Linked DNA regions of Homo sapiens: region 1 is linked to region 2. The links are contacts of gene promoters, found by promoter capture Hi-C in human tissues and cell types (Jung and others, 2019). All regions are on one chromosome and are shown on one strand. The core of a region is centred on a gene start or on the middle of the fragment in contact, and the rest is flanking DNA. Distances in the headings are between cores, read along the strand shown. Region 1 overlaps HIVEP3 (HIVEP zinc finger 3). Region 2 holds the start of GUCA2B (guanylate cyclase activator 2B).

Region 1 (7,263 bases), core at 4,564-7,063, 240 kb before region 2:
TCCATAAGAGAAAAAAGTGAGTGGTTCTGGGCATCTAGTAAGTGGAAGAGGAAAGAGACCATCTCTAATCCTAACTCACTCTGTTCCAGGTTTGGAATAAAAGCTGTATCGGGAGAAATAACCTGTTAAAGTAGAATTGTCAATGTGTAGAACTGAAAATCGGCCAAAAATCCATCAGCTTTCTCAATTTACTAAGAAAGAATAATTAACTCCCTAGTACCTGATATACTTTTGCATTTAAAGGCTAAACTACCTATATCTACTCAATATCATTCACTTCTAGTAAGACTCTTATTGGCAGGTTTAAAGCACCCCTACCCAACCCACTAGCACCAACTTGTCTTTTATCTTAGCCTGGAAAGAACATGTATGGGTTACATTACTAAGAACATAGTATCATTGAATGAATCATTAAATAGACCAGTCACTGTAATAAATACATGTGGATATATACATTCTGTTAATAGACTTGGCATAGTCTTTCATGGTTTCAAGTGTTAAGGTTTATTGTGGTATTAAAGAAAACCTTATAGACTTTCATTTTCTGAACGATAGTGGATTCAATATATAGCCAACTCTACTGAAAACACTAAGCAAACTGGATACTATAGAAAAACTCTTTTGAAATGACTGATGAGCTGGCAAGTTAGTAAGACGTATTCAGTGAGCAAAAACTAAGCAAAATCTGAAGCCTAGTATAAGAGCCAATCCCTGAAGCTAGCTTGAAGACAATAGCCAACAAAGTGACCTTCACTTTTATCTTTTGTGGCCTCACGGGAAGAGGAGACAGGATAAGAATTTCCCATAACATAAAGGATACTATCACATGGATCCAGGAACTCCAATGAATACCAAGTATGAGAAATAAAAATAAATATATACCTAGATACGCTTTGTGAAACTATAGAACACCAAACAATTTAAAGGAACCAGAAGGAAAACACAGATTATTCTCAAAGGAGACACTCTTGTCTGTAGACAAGACAGTAGATTTTAGAGGCAACAATGGAAACAGAGGACAGTTGAATAATATCTTCATTGTGTTGGAGAGAAAATAACTGGCAACCTAGAATTCTACCCTAATTCTACCCAGTAAAAACCTCTCTCAAAAACAAGGGGAAAAATAGTGTATTTGCAAGCAAACAAAATCAAGAAGTTGTCACCAACAGACCCTCAATAAAGAAAATTCTAAAAGCTGTACTTCAGGCTCTATTGGAAAATACCAAAATGAAGTTGGTAGACCTACATTAATATTAATCAGAATAGACTTAAAGACTAAAAGAATTACTAAGGAAACAAGTTTTGCTTAATTATAAAAGATTCAATTCACCAGAAAGATAAAACAATTCAAACCTATAGGTACCTAATAACAAAGGCTCAAAATATATAAAACACAAACTGACAGACCATAAGAAGAAACAGAAAAATCTACGATCATAGTGGGAGATTATAATACTTCTCTCAGTAACTGATTGAACAAGCATACAAACATCAGTAATGATATAAAAGACTTGGACAACACAGTGAAGAAGCTTGATCTGATAGAGTTACATAGAACACTGCATCTAACAATGGTAGGATCCACAGAACATTATGAAAAGTGACCACATACCAAGCCTTACAGTAAGCTTCAATAAATTTAAAAGGCTGGGTAGCACTCAAACAATATTTGACAACCATGAGGCAATTAAGTTAGAAATTAGTAACAAAAAGATAATAAGAAAAATAAACAAACATTCAGAGGATTAAAAAGAAACACAGCTTTAAGTCATAAGTCAAAGAATAAATCATAGTGAAAATTATAAAGTACTCAGAACCAAATTATATACAAATATTACATATCAAAATTTATGAAGTTAGAGTAAATATTGTATAGCTTACAATGCTCATAATGGGGAAAAAAGCCTGAAAATTAAAAAGCCAAACACTTACCTTAAAAAGCTAAGAAAGAAAAATAGCTCAAATGTAAATAAGTTAGATGGAAGAAAATAATAAAAATTAGTATAGACATTCATAAACTAGAAAACAAAAGATGGAGAGGATCACAAAGTCAAGGATTAGAGATAGTCTCTAATAACATTGAGAAAATTCTTAAAAGACCATTTAACAAAATTATAGAAGGTATTACAAATGAAAAGTGGACATAACCACAGATCCCACAGAACATTAAAAAATAACAGCATCTTATAAGTAGCTTCAAGGTAAAAATTTTGAAAACTCAGATAATATGGATAAATTTCTAGAAAAATCTAATTTACCAATATTGATTTAAGAAAAAAATTAAAACCTGAATACCCATGATCTATTGAAGAAATTGAATCAGAGGTTAAAAATCTTCAGGAAAGAAAGAACTCCAGCCTCACAGAATCTTTTTTTGAGAACAGATAAAGAGGAAATATTCTATAACTTACTTTACAAATTCAGCAAAACCATGATACAAAACCCTGCCAAGGATAAGATAAGAAGTGCAAATTACAGTACAACACACTCATGAAGATAGATATAAAACTTCTAAATTTTATTAGCAAAAAAACCTAGCAATGTATAAGAAATGAACCCATTACAACCAAGTCAGGTTTATTCTAGGAAAGCAAGGTTAAGTTAACATTGGAAAATTAGTTTACCAGATATTAACAAATTAAAGAAAAAAATTATATAAATCTCAATAAATGCAGAGGAAGTATTTAATAAACATCCATGTATATAATTTGAAAGAAAAAAAGCTCTTTGCAAACTACAGAACAGGAGTAGTTCCTTATCCTAATAAGGAATATCAAATCCATAAAAACTCTCATTCTCAAGGGAAAACGTTGAACATGAAAGGCAAAGCTTAAACGTTTAGAAGACCATACAAGAACTGTCCTTAAGGATGTCCTTTAAAAGACACAAAATGTTCAATGATAAAGGAAAGATTGATAAATTTTATTACATTGAAATTAAGAATTTCTGCCACTGTAAAGATACTAAAAAAGATGGTGAGAAAAAATAACACAAATAAGGAGAAGGTATTTTGGCAACACAGAGAAATAGTCTCCTGCATATATAAAGAACTCCTACAAATAAATAAGAGAGATGTAAACTACCCAATTTTCAAATAAATGGGCAAAAGGCTTAAAGAGGTACTTCACAAAAAAAGAAAATCCAAAAGGTCAACAGCGTATGAAAAGATACTGACCCTCTTTAGTAATCAAATGTATATAAATTGAAAGCAGATTAGATACTGTTACACATCCACAAGATGGGCAAAAGTTTTTGACAATATCCTACAAAATATAAAGTTTTTGCAAGATTAGAGAGCAGTAGGAGAAATTGCAGCTGGATATAGAAATTGGTTAAACACATTGGAAATTAATTTTTGATTAAAGTGAAACTCATATGACACCATAGAATTCTGAACTATCCTAGCAGCACTGAAAATGCCCATAGTCTGTGGCCAGTAATTTTATTACTATGTGTATTCCCTAAGTAAACTTACACACATACTTAGCAGGGAACTTGAAAAAAAATGTTTACAGCAGCACTATTTATAATAGCAAAATACTGGAAATAAGCTAAGTGTTCATTAATAATAGAATAGACATATAAACTGCCATATATTCATTCAATGGAATATTATGGTTCAGCAAAATGAAAAAATTTCAGCTACACCCAACAATGTGAATGAATCCAGGACGAAACATTTAACAACCAGTTGGTACAGAGTCCAATCAAATGAAGTCCCAGCCCTAGTGCCAGAGCTGGTACCCAAGACCCCCTGCCATGCCAGGTGTAATCCCTTTAGAAAGGAGTGGACTTGGAGAAGTACCATAGGAGCACCTGGGAAAGACCCAGGTAAGCAGCAATTTACCAACTGATATGGAAATATTCCCATTGTTTGTCAACCAGTGAGCCTTACTGGTGTGGTGTGCATGGACTAAACGTGAGCATTAAGAACAAAAGAATAAAACAGTGTGATTCCATTTATATGAAGTTCACAAACACGCATAACTAGACAATATATTGTTTAGGGATACAAATGCAAGAGGATAAGACAATAAAGAAAAGCATAGGGGAATAAAAGGTACAGAAATGTCCAGAAGATGGTAATCCCTGAGAAGAGAAGGAATGGGATAGGGTGGAGGGAGGTACACAGGGGATGTCAAAGGTTCAAGTAACATTCTTTTTCTCAAATTGACTGGTGAGTACATAAGTGTTAGTCATAATGTTATTCTTTAGACCTTTCTACACAGTTTGTAAGCATTCGTTTGCATCTAGGGGCTATTTCATTAAAGTTATTTCAAAAGATGGTCACAACACAAATTTAATAAGAAACTCTCATATCAAATTGCTGCAGTTCCTGCCATATCTTTTCTAGTTGCTGGGCAAAGATGCTCTCCTCAATTGTAATTGGTGTGCTCTTAAACCCACTTAAAATTCTAAGAGCTTCTCCCCAGACCACTCCAAAACATTCTTGTGAGAATCTTTCCAGTGAGGTACAGCAAGGCCCAACCTCCAGGGCACATTATGCTCTGGCTCATTTATTTGATACAATCATAATCATAGTGGGTTTTTTTCTCAAACTTTGAAATCTTCAAAATGAGGGCATGGAGCAAATGACTACATTCTGCTTCTCTTGCTAAGATTTCAATGGTGATGCTCTCATTTTAAGTTCTTTACCAGACGCTTCAGCTGTGCTATGCCCAATTCCCCTCATCAAGATTTGCTGACAGTCAGGGGAAGTTTCTAACACTGTATTAAGTGTATACTGAGGGCCAGGGAATTGGGGGGAGTTTGAGGGGCTGCACACATGTGCAATTTTTTAGCAAACCCAGCAGATGCTTGTAGATTCAACACTTTTTCAGTTATTTGTGAACAACCCCTAATAGCCACACCACATGGCAATTTGTCTTTTCTCTGGAGCACAAATGTGAACTGTATGTTGCAAAGCCACAGCAAAGAACAAGTCACTTAGCTAGAGAGGGAGTCTTCTCAAAGACCCAGTAACCCCATCCCAAGATGCCACCAGGGAAACAGAAACTCTCTGGAGGTGAAAGAAACTTAATTTCCTTGAGTGCAAATTGAAAAGGCAAATAATTGGTAGCCTGTGAATAGTCATAGGAACCTCTTCACTCTGGAATGGAACCTGATTCAGGAGGAAGTCAAGAGCCTATGCAAATATTTCTGCATTTGCAAACTTGGGGATTTGCCAAGGGCTTGAGATGTATCCACTGAAAATGTCAAGCGTCTACTGTGTAGAATTTTGATGGAGGAGGATTTCAAAATTCTTCTTCTATTTAAATCCAATCAATTCATGTTTATCAGGGCATCTCTGATCTTTTTGTTTTTAAGAGACATATTTGCTCTATTGTCCAGGCTGGAGTACAGTGATGTGATCATAGCCCATGGCAGGCTCAAACTCCTGGACTCAAGAGATCCTCCCGCCTCTGTCTCCTGAGTAGTTAGAATTACAGGTGTGAGCCACCATGTCCATAATTTTATTTTTATTTTTTTTAAGACAGGGTCTTGCTATGTCGCCCAGGCTGATCTCAAACTCCTGGGCTCAAGTGATCCTCCTGTGTCAGCCTCCTGAGCAGCTGGCATTACAGGCATGAGCCACTGTATCCAGCTCCTCTGATCTTAAGATAGTTTCAACATCTAATGCTAAGCCTGGAAGTCCAATGAAAGACTCAATAGACTAAAATTGGTGACTGAGATTCGGAGGAGCATATCGTGTGTTTATAACACTGCTTTTATTTTTTCCATATCTTTCTACTATTTGTTTATTAGCTTTTCTTTGGATCTCAGTTATTCATACATAACACATGTTTAAAAAGTTGATCCTAAACCCCAATTCAAGGGTCCACCGATGCTCAGAGATCTCAAGATTTCTGAGACTAGCTTCCCTATACTTCTCCCTGGCTTTGCTCCCCAAATCTGAAAGGCATTTTCAGATCACCCCTACTTCATATTTAGATATAAAGCTTCCCCCTTTATCCACAAGAATTCCAGCTGCACCTGGCATTTCAAAAACACTTAGTAATGAGGAGGGGAGACCCATCAGTCATGTACTCACCACTTCCATTGTTGTCCTGCCTCCCAAGCACATATTTCCAACTGTGAAACCTCCCAACAGGGCAGTCCTCTGGATAGTGTGGTTCAGTCACTTCCCACCACCATGCCTCACCTCCTCTGCCTTCCAAGCCCTCTGGGACTTCAGGGAATACCTTTTCTCCATCATATTACAATTAGATACAGGGAACCTTTGGAGAGTTCTGAGTATTTGTGATTATATTCAATAACCTGTTACTGACAGTTTCTTTTAGTTAAAGAATTTTTTCAAGTAAGTTACCAAAACAATGAATGTATGTACATCTAGAAACTGAGAAATACTCTTCCATGACTTTTAGTTAGGTCCTCACGTTTTCCACATATGTATTGAATTTTTAAAATACTATTTTAAAAGGGTCTACATTTATTTTCCTCTACTTTTGTTTTTCCTCTTGCCTTTGTTTTGGAGCAAATTTTAACTGAACACATTGTCAGAGGGTCAGGCCAAGTTTGGCACTGCTCGTGTATCTCAGCCACCTTCCAGTTTTCAGCACGATGTCTGAACTGAAAAAACACCATTGCTTACCATAAGGGTGTGGCCATGACAGCTTGAACAACATCCGGGTAGTGGTAAGTCTACATTTGCTACACAGATGTAAGAAACAGATAGCAGTAGGGTCTACCTCTCCTGCTCCATCTTTTCCATCACCAGGTCTCTTCCAACTCCAGAATTAAAGTCATCAAGTTGGAACAACTCTAAGTGTGTTTCCTGATCATAACAAGACAGGTTGAGGTTCATGAATATTTTCTTTAGTATTAAATGTTAGAACATAACCACTAATAATAACAGTAGCATAGTAGTTCCCTGATAAATTTTGACAAAAGATCATAAAGTTCTCAATTTCAACAGCAGGGCTTTATAGTTGTAATATAATTTTGACCAGTAAGCCACCGGCTATCCAGAAACCTCACAGGTGCCATTATCATGGATAGTTGCAGTTTTTTCTCTAAGAATCATGCAAAAAAAAAAAATCTTTTGGGGATACTTCAGAACTCTGTCTTTTTAAATTGGATGAACAAAATATAATTTTAACTTCTATGGATACATGTGGGTCATTGTGAGCATCAGTTACTATGTTATAAAACAGAGTACCAAAGATCCATCAAAATACATAAAATTTCACTGAATTGCTTACATTAAATGCTCATATCAGCTTTAGAATTCCATGCCTTGAA
Region 2 (7,104 bases), core at 2,504-5,003:
ACTGCAATATCAAATCTAATTTGAATTTCCAGCCTGCCAAACTTCCCTACAGATTTCAGACTTACCAGCTCAGCAGTCATGTGAGCCAGTTCTTTAAAATAAATTTAGTTAGATGACACATAGATAGATCTATCCAATAGGATAGACGTGCCAGGTATTGTTTCAGGAGAACAAAACAAATTCTTTACTGTAATAGAACTTACATTCTAGGAGACAGAAAGATGCAAAACTTTAGATGGATATGTATGACAGGTGCTACGAGAAAGCAAGTTAAAAGAGTTAGGAGTGGTGGGAGAAGCTCTCTGAAGTAAGATTTTTTTCAGTGTGATTAACATTTACAATCAGTAGACTTTCTAGTAAGAAATATATATCTCTATATAGGATGTATGTGTGTGTGTGTGTTCTGTATCTGTGTGTGGGTGTGTGTGTGTGTATGTTCTGCTTATCTGGAGAACCCTGCCTAATATAAGGCTATTGCAATAATCCATTCAACCTGTGATGATAGCTTGAACCTTGATCATAGCAGTGGAGATGATGAGAAACGGGTGGAATCCAGAAATATCTTGAAGGTAGAGCCAACTGGATTTGCTAGTGAATTTAATTTGGCAAATAAAAAAGAGACATCAAGGATGACTCCCAGATTTTTGACTTGACAACTGGGTGAATGGTAGTACTATCAACCGGTATGAGAGGAACTGAGGAGGCCGGTAGATAAATGAGTTTGGGATTGAGAAGAAAGGCCAGGCTATGGAGTAAACAGAGTGTTGATGGTATTAAAGCCCTTGTGATGGGATAAATCGCCAAGGGGGTGATTACAGACAGGAAGAAAGACGTCCAAAGACAGCCTTGGTGCCCCCTGGGCACTCTAACACCTAGAGGTCAGGAAGAGAAGGAAAAACCAAGGAAGGAAGCTGAGAATATGGAGCCAGAGAGATTGGCAGAAAATGTGGAGAGTCCCAGGAGTCAAATGGTGAAAGCACTTTACTCCAAGAAAGATGGAGTGGTCAGCTATGACAAATGCTGTGGGGAACTGAGCAGTTTGGGGCAGGGAGAGCCCTGGGCTCTGGGCACCATAGCAGTGGGCACTGAGCAGCGAGGCCAGGGTAGAGAGCGGAGCTGCCCAAATGCACATGGGCAAACTGTCACCCACCCCACATCTGTGATTGAGGCTTCCACACAGGGTGAACTCCAGGCTCTTGTGACAGTCACTTCCCACATCCCTAAAGAAGGAAGTGCCCTGATAATACCACGTCAATGCACATGGGCTGGCCAGGGGTAGCGTCAAGGATTTGCGTCTGTGGCCAAGTTGGTTGTGATGGATGGTGGGTCATTTAGAAAGAGATTAGGAGGAGGTGGGTTTGACAAATAAACTTGAGTCATGTTAGGCAGATAGGGAAGTCATACCTGGTTCCCAGGGAAGACTGACACATGACGGGCCCTGGCTGGAGGAGCCACAGGGCGAGGAAAGGACAGACACCATGGCCAAGGGGCCCCCAGACCCTACCGCTATGTCCCATTGATGTGGGGGTCAAGGGAGATGAGCTTCCTCTCGTGGAAAGACCATAGATTTAGGTATCAAGCAGCCTCATAACAACCTCAAACACTGGAGACGTCACATTATTTTTACAAATGAGAAACTGAGATCACAGAGGTCGTCGCTTGTCCAAGGTCCTACAGTTGATCAGACCCAAGTATGGACATTCCAGCCCAGCATTGAGTTCAGCCTGTGCATGTCAGAAAGCAGCACTGGTCCTGCTATAGATTGAGAGATGGGGCTTGTCATGGGAGTTACATAAGGAGAGGCAGGGAAACCCCCCTTCATGACGCATCCCCCATAAGCCAGGCACATGCTGGGGAAATGGTTGGTTTTAGGGAGAGTCACAGGCTCTCCTGGGACAGGTATCGTTCAGTTTTTCCTTACAACAACCACTATGAGGTCTTTTTAAAAATTATTATTACTATTTTCTCTACTTTACTGATGAAGAAGCGGAGGCTCAGAGAAGCTAAGTAATGTACCAAAGATCACACAGCTGGTAAGTGCTGTCATTCGGGTTTGAACCCAGCTCTCCTCATCTCTAAGTCCTCAGTTCCTTTTTCTATAACACCACAGGCTGAGCAAAGGCAAGAATTCCAGGTAGAAAATCTGCTTACCCCTCTTGCTCCCACAGTGACAACAAACATGGTGCTTCATTGGGCCTCAGGTTACTCATCTGTAAAATGGGAATAACCATTATGCCTATCCTTTAGGATTCAATGGGATTACGACTATAACATAGCTTTGTGCACAGTATTCAAGAAATGAGAGCTATTATTCCCAGATGGTTGTTTTCATTTTACAGATTAGAGGGCATGTAAGATTCCCTTCATTTCCATAGACTCTAAAGAGCAAAGGCTGAAGTCTGGATTCAAAGCAATACATAAGAAATTCCAAAGTTCACTTGAGCTTCTTCTTCATTTCAGTCTGAGATAAGAAAAAGGAAGATGGCATTTCAGGCAGGTGGAATGAGTAGGCAAAGACATGAGATGGGATTAGACCTGTGCAAATAGGGTTGGTATGGGGAAGCACGATGACATCAGATTTTAGCCACTTTTGGGAGTGGCATCTTAAATGCCAAGGTGAGCTATCAGGGCTTCAATCCAACGTTCAGGCTCAATGTCAGGGGAGCCTGCCACATGCCAGAGTCTGTGCCTGGCAGAGCTGAGCCCTGGCACACGCACTGTTTACAGCTGCCTGGTATGGCAGTGGTGATATCACCCTTAGAGACTTTGCCCTCTTCTCTCTGACCCAACCTTCAACCACTGGGGCAGTAGGTTATGCATTGCCTAGAAGGCAACTGTAAGATTCAGGGGCTGCTATGGATGCATTACCCAGGAGATAAGGGCAACCTCAGGTGGGCCGGGGCCCTCACAGCAACCTTACGAGAGGGGTTGTATCATGCCCATTTGATGGAAGAGAAAACTAAGATTCCATTAGAATTGATGTGACGTATCCTAAATCACACAGCTGCAGCAGGACTAGGATTTGAATGCGGGTCAATCTGCCTCCAACACTACTGCCTTTTCCTCCATGCTGGATTAGGCTATTGGCTTCTGAAAGCACAGACAGGTGAGATGGGTCAAACATGGCCTGAAGCACCCAGGCACAGGTGGGAGATGGCAAGCAGAGGCAGGTTCAAAACGTGGGGCCAGGACTGGTCTGAAAGATAGTCGTTAAATAGCACTGAGGAGAGGGAGTGAGAGAGATGTGGGTCTTGGGGGAGTGGGGTCTTGAGAACCCTGAAATCAGCAGTGTCTGCCCACTTTGCCCTGGACCAGCCTCTCTGTCTGTATCCTTCCCCCAGAGAAAGGACCATGGGCTGACCTGGGCCAAGGACACCTGGCTGGAGCCCCTTCTCTGACATTAACTAGCTCCGTGACCTGGGGAAAGCCACCCTCCCTCCTGAGCCTCACTTTTCCTGTCTGTAAAATGGCCTCCCCGTCATCACACCCACACAGGTGTCTTGAGGAGTGAATGATGGTGTGCTCCAAGGCCCCCATGGAGAGCCCGGCACATGGCAGGCACTCGGTGTTCAAGCACTGTGTTCCCATAGACTCTGGGCTCCTGCCCTCCTCGCCCCCAACCCCCTTCCTAGGAACCAGCCCCGGCTTGTCAGAGAGCCAGCTAGCTGTCAACCCCACCCCAGCTGGCCAGTTAATGAGTGACCAGGACTCCTGAGCCTGACCTATAAGGAGGTGCTAGGCAGGGACACAGATGGGAGACGGTGGACAGCGGCAGGGGGAACCCAGGGAGCGCGATGGGCTGCAGGGCTGCATCAGGGCTCCTGCCAGGAGTGGCCGTGGTCCTCCTGCTGCTGCTGCAGAGCACACAGTCAGTCTACATCCAGGTGAGTCCCTTGGCCAGCGTTCCCTTTGCCTGAAGGGCCCCATGGTGGGAGGCTAGGCTGGAGAGGGTGTACTGGGAATTCAGAGGGGCACCGGGGGAGCACGGGGCCCGGGGCTCAGCCCAACACCCATCACAGCCCAGAGACCAAGGCAGCTGGTGGGTGGGGGCAGCCAGATGTTGATGGCAGTGATGATGGCAATGACAACACCAAACTGATTCAGCGCTGCTCCCCTCAAAGGCCCGTGCTGGTCACAGAGGTCAGGGTGTGGAACAGAAGGCTCCTCCTTGCATGGGAGGAGGCCAGAAAGGGAAGGAGACACCCTGTTATGCTCCCACAGTTCCGTATATTCACCCACATGTAGGTGGAGGAGGACAGGCTCCAGAAAAATTTTCCTGAGAAGTAACCCTTGAGCTGGCATTGCAAGATGAACAGGAGGTTGCCAGACACAGATGATGGGGAAACTGTTCCAGGCCAAGGGGCACAGCATGTGCAAAGACCAGATAGAAGACTATGGGGGTTCCAGTGCCCTTCCAGGGGGCATGGGAGAGTGGCAGTAGTCGTCACAGCAGGGCCTGTCTGCCACGTCACAGGGGATGCTGCTGGCCTCGCCCAGCATAGCAGAGACGTCTGTGGCCCTGGGTGTCACATCCCTGACTCTGGGCATGGTCTCCTTGGGAAGAACAAAGTGGGTCCCAGAGAGGGGTGCAGGAGACTTGGCCTCCCCAACAGCCCTGGCCTCAGAGACCAGCTACTTGGGGCTGCCATCACTCTGCCATGTGAGCTCAGGCAGGCGTACTCAGTTAGTGATTGTGCCCTGGTACCAGGCCCCCACGGGAGATGTCAGATGAGGGAACTGAGGCTGAGTGGGGAACAGACAGGCAGCCGGTCATGGGCAGAGGTGGGATTTGAACCAGGGCTTGTCTGTCTCTAAAGCCTCGAACCACTGTGCTCCACAGCCCCGCTGCTTCTTCCTCACACCTCTCACCGCAGCGGCTCTTTCCAGTGTGGCCCTGGACTTCCCATAGAGACGGGGAAGGCTCTGGAGGATCTGCAGGGTTTGAGCAACCCTGGGTGTCATGGCAGTGCCTGCCCCTGGACCAGGTCTTGACCTGCTCCTATCTCCTCTCCCCTGTCTGTAGTACCAAGGCTTCCGGGTCCAGCTGGAATCCATGAAGAAGCTGAGTGACCTGGAGGCACAGTGGGCACCCAGCCCCCGCCTGCAGGCCCAGAGCCTCCTGCCCGCCGTGTGCCACCACCCTGCTCTGCCTCAGGACCTTCAGCCTGTCTGCGCCTCGCAGGAGGCTTCCAGCATCTTCAAGACCCTGAGTAAGTGCCCCCGCTCCCTGCAGAACCTCGCTCTGTCTCCTCCCACGCCCAGGCTCCTCCACCTGGGTTGTTTCTCTTAAGCACCCAGCGGCTGAGGATGGGGAGATTCAAGTAACTCAGGCCCTGTCCCACTGGCTCCCAGGACTCCCCGGTTTGGGCACTGTGAGTCAGGCATGCCTGGAACCTGCTTCGTCCCCTTAGTCCACGCCAGGCACAGACCCATCAACAGACAATGGCTGCGTGGAGCAGAGAGGAGAGCTGGCTGACATCTGCGATGGGACAGGGGTGTGAAAGGCTTCCAAGAGGAGGTGTCAGCCAAGCTGAAACCTGAGGGATCGTGCAGAGCCAGGCACGAGAATGTAGCAACTAGCTAGCACTTACTGAGCACCTACTGTGTGCCGGGACTTGTCGGTCCTGCATTATCTCCTCACAGTGACCCTGTCCATTTAGCAAACAAGAAATCTCAGGCACAGGGAGTGTGAGTGACTTGCCCAGTGGCCGCTAGGAAGGAGAGCATCTGGGACTTGAACCCAAGCCCTCACTCCACCTCTAGACGTTCCTGCTCCCAGTCTGTGGAAGATGCCGCCCATTCCCAAGCAGACCTCTTCTGCTGCCTGGCCACAGAGGGCCCAGGTTCAGGTCAACTGACCAGTTCTCTCCCTGCCCAGGGACCATCGCTAACGACGACTGTGAGCTGTGTGTGAACGTTGCGTGTACCGGCTGCCTCTGAGATAGCCCTGGGTACCCTGAGCCCACCAGGGACACCTCGCCCTTCAGCCCACCACCCTGGCAGGCTTCCATCCCCGTCCATGCTCAAGATGGGTCCCTGGCCACCATGGTCATCACCACCCTTCCAGGGCCTGAGCAGCTGGATCTGGTACAAAGCAATCGGACATAGAGTTGGAGGGGGAGGCCCCTGAGGCAGCCCAGCTCCTGAATAAAGATTCTACAACACACGAGTCCACGTGTCCTTTGTTCATCCCCAGGAGCCATGGGAGGAGCTTCTGGAGAAGAAGTGTGGATTGAGGAGAAAGACGGGACTAAAAATACCAGGCAGGAATTTTCCTGAAGTTTTCAAGGCCCGGGGAGTTGATTGAACCCCATCCCGAATATGAGGGAGCTGAGGCTCGGAGCAGGAATGAGGCATCCAGGATCACAGAGCTCAGAAGCCCCAGAGCCAGCCAGACCTGGCGACCCCCAGGCTGAACTCAAGGCCTCCCCAGCTTCGGAGCAAGAGCAACTGTGCTCCTGACGCAGGAGTGGGGTTGGGGCAGGGAGGAGGTGAGACAGAAGGAGAGAGTGGAGGGAAGATTCAAGCAGCATGTCCTCCCAAGCTGTAATCAGGGCCGACTCTGCCTGGGGTCTGCGTGAGAAGATCGGCCCTTGGCCTTCATCCTCATTCCCAAGCTCCCACTTTTCCCAGCCCCACAGGGACCATCTGGCCAGCTCCAGCTGGGAGGCCTTCCCACCCTCTCTCCATCCTGGCAGCCTGAGGAATATTAATAATAATTAATAGCCAACAAACGCCAGGCACAGTGGCTCACACCTGTAATTCCAGTACTTTAGGAGGCCATGATGGGAGGATTGCTTGAGGCCATGAGTTTGAGACAAACCCGGGCAACGTAGGGAGATCCCATCTCTATGAAAAAATTGAAAGTTAGCCAGAAGTATTGGCACTTGCCTGTAGTTCCAGCTACACAGGAGGCTGAGACAGGAGGATCACTTGAACCTGGGAGGTTGAGGCCATAGTGAGCTGTGATCACACCACTGAACTCCAGCCTTGGCAACAGAGCAAGACCTTGTATTTAAAAATAATAATAATTATAGGCTGGGTGTGGTGACTCACACCTGTAACCCCAGCACTTTGGGAGGTCAAGGTGGGAGGATCACTGAG

Evidence for each region. The method cuts DNA at HindIII sites, captures the fragments that hold promoters and counts their contacts. A contact is called where the count stands out against the background at its distance.
Region 1: a fragment that was not itself captured here is called in contact with the fragment with the promoter of GUCA2B in region 2 in 1 of the 25 tissues and cell types used here (bladder).

Annotation. Positions count from the first base shown.
Region 1 is chr1:41,908,090-41,915,352 of GRCh38, forward strand. The region is part of intron 1 of HIVEP3 (HIVEP zinc finger 3); the gene reads right to left. Among named protein-coding and RNA genes, the nearest start is that of HIVEP3, 7.2 kb to the right of the region's middle. The HindIII fragment of the contact is 8,466 bases long and covers 1,581-7,263 here.
Region 2 is chr1:42,149,657-42,156,760 of GRCh38, forward strand. It overlaps GUCA2B (guanylate cyclase activator 2B), which reads left to right and starts at 3,754. Exons shown (of 3, transcript NM_007102.3): 1 at 3,754-3,884; 2 at 5,024-5,210; 3 at 5,879-6,164. The coding sequence starts at 3,795. The coding sequence ends at 5,940. The HindIII fragment of the contact is 15,047 bases long and covers 1-7,104 here.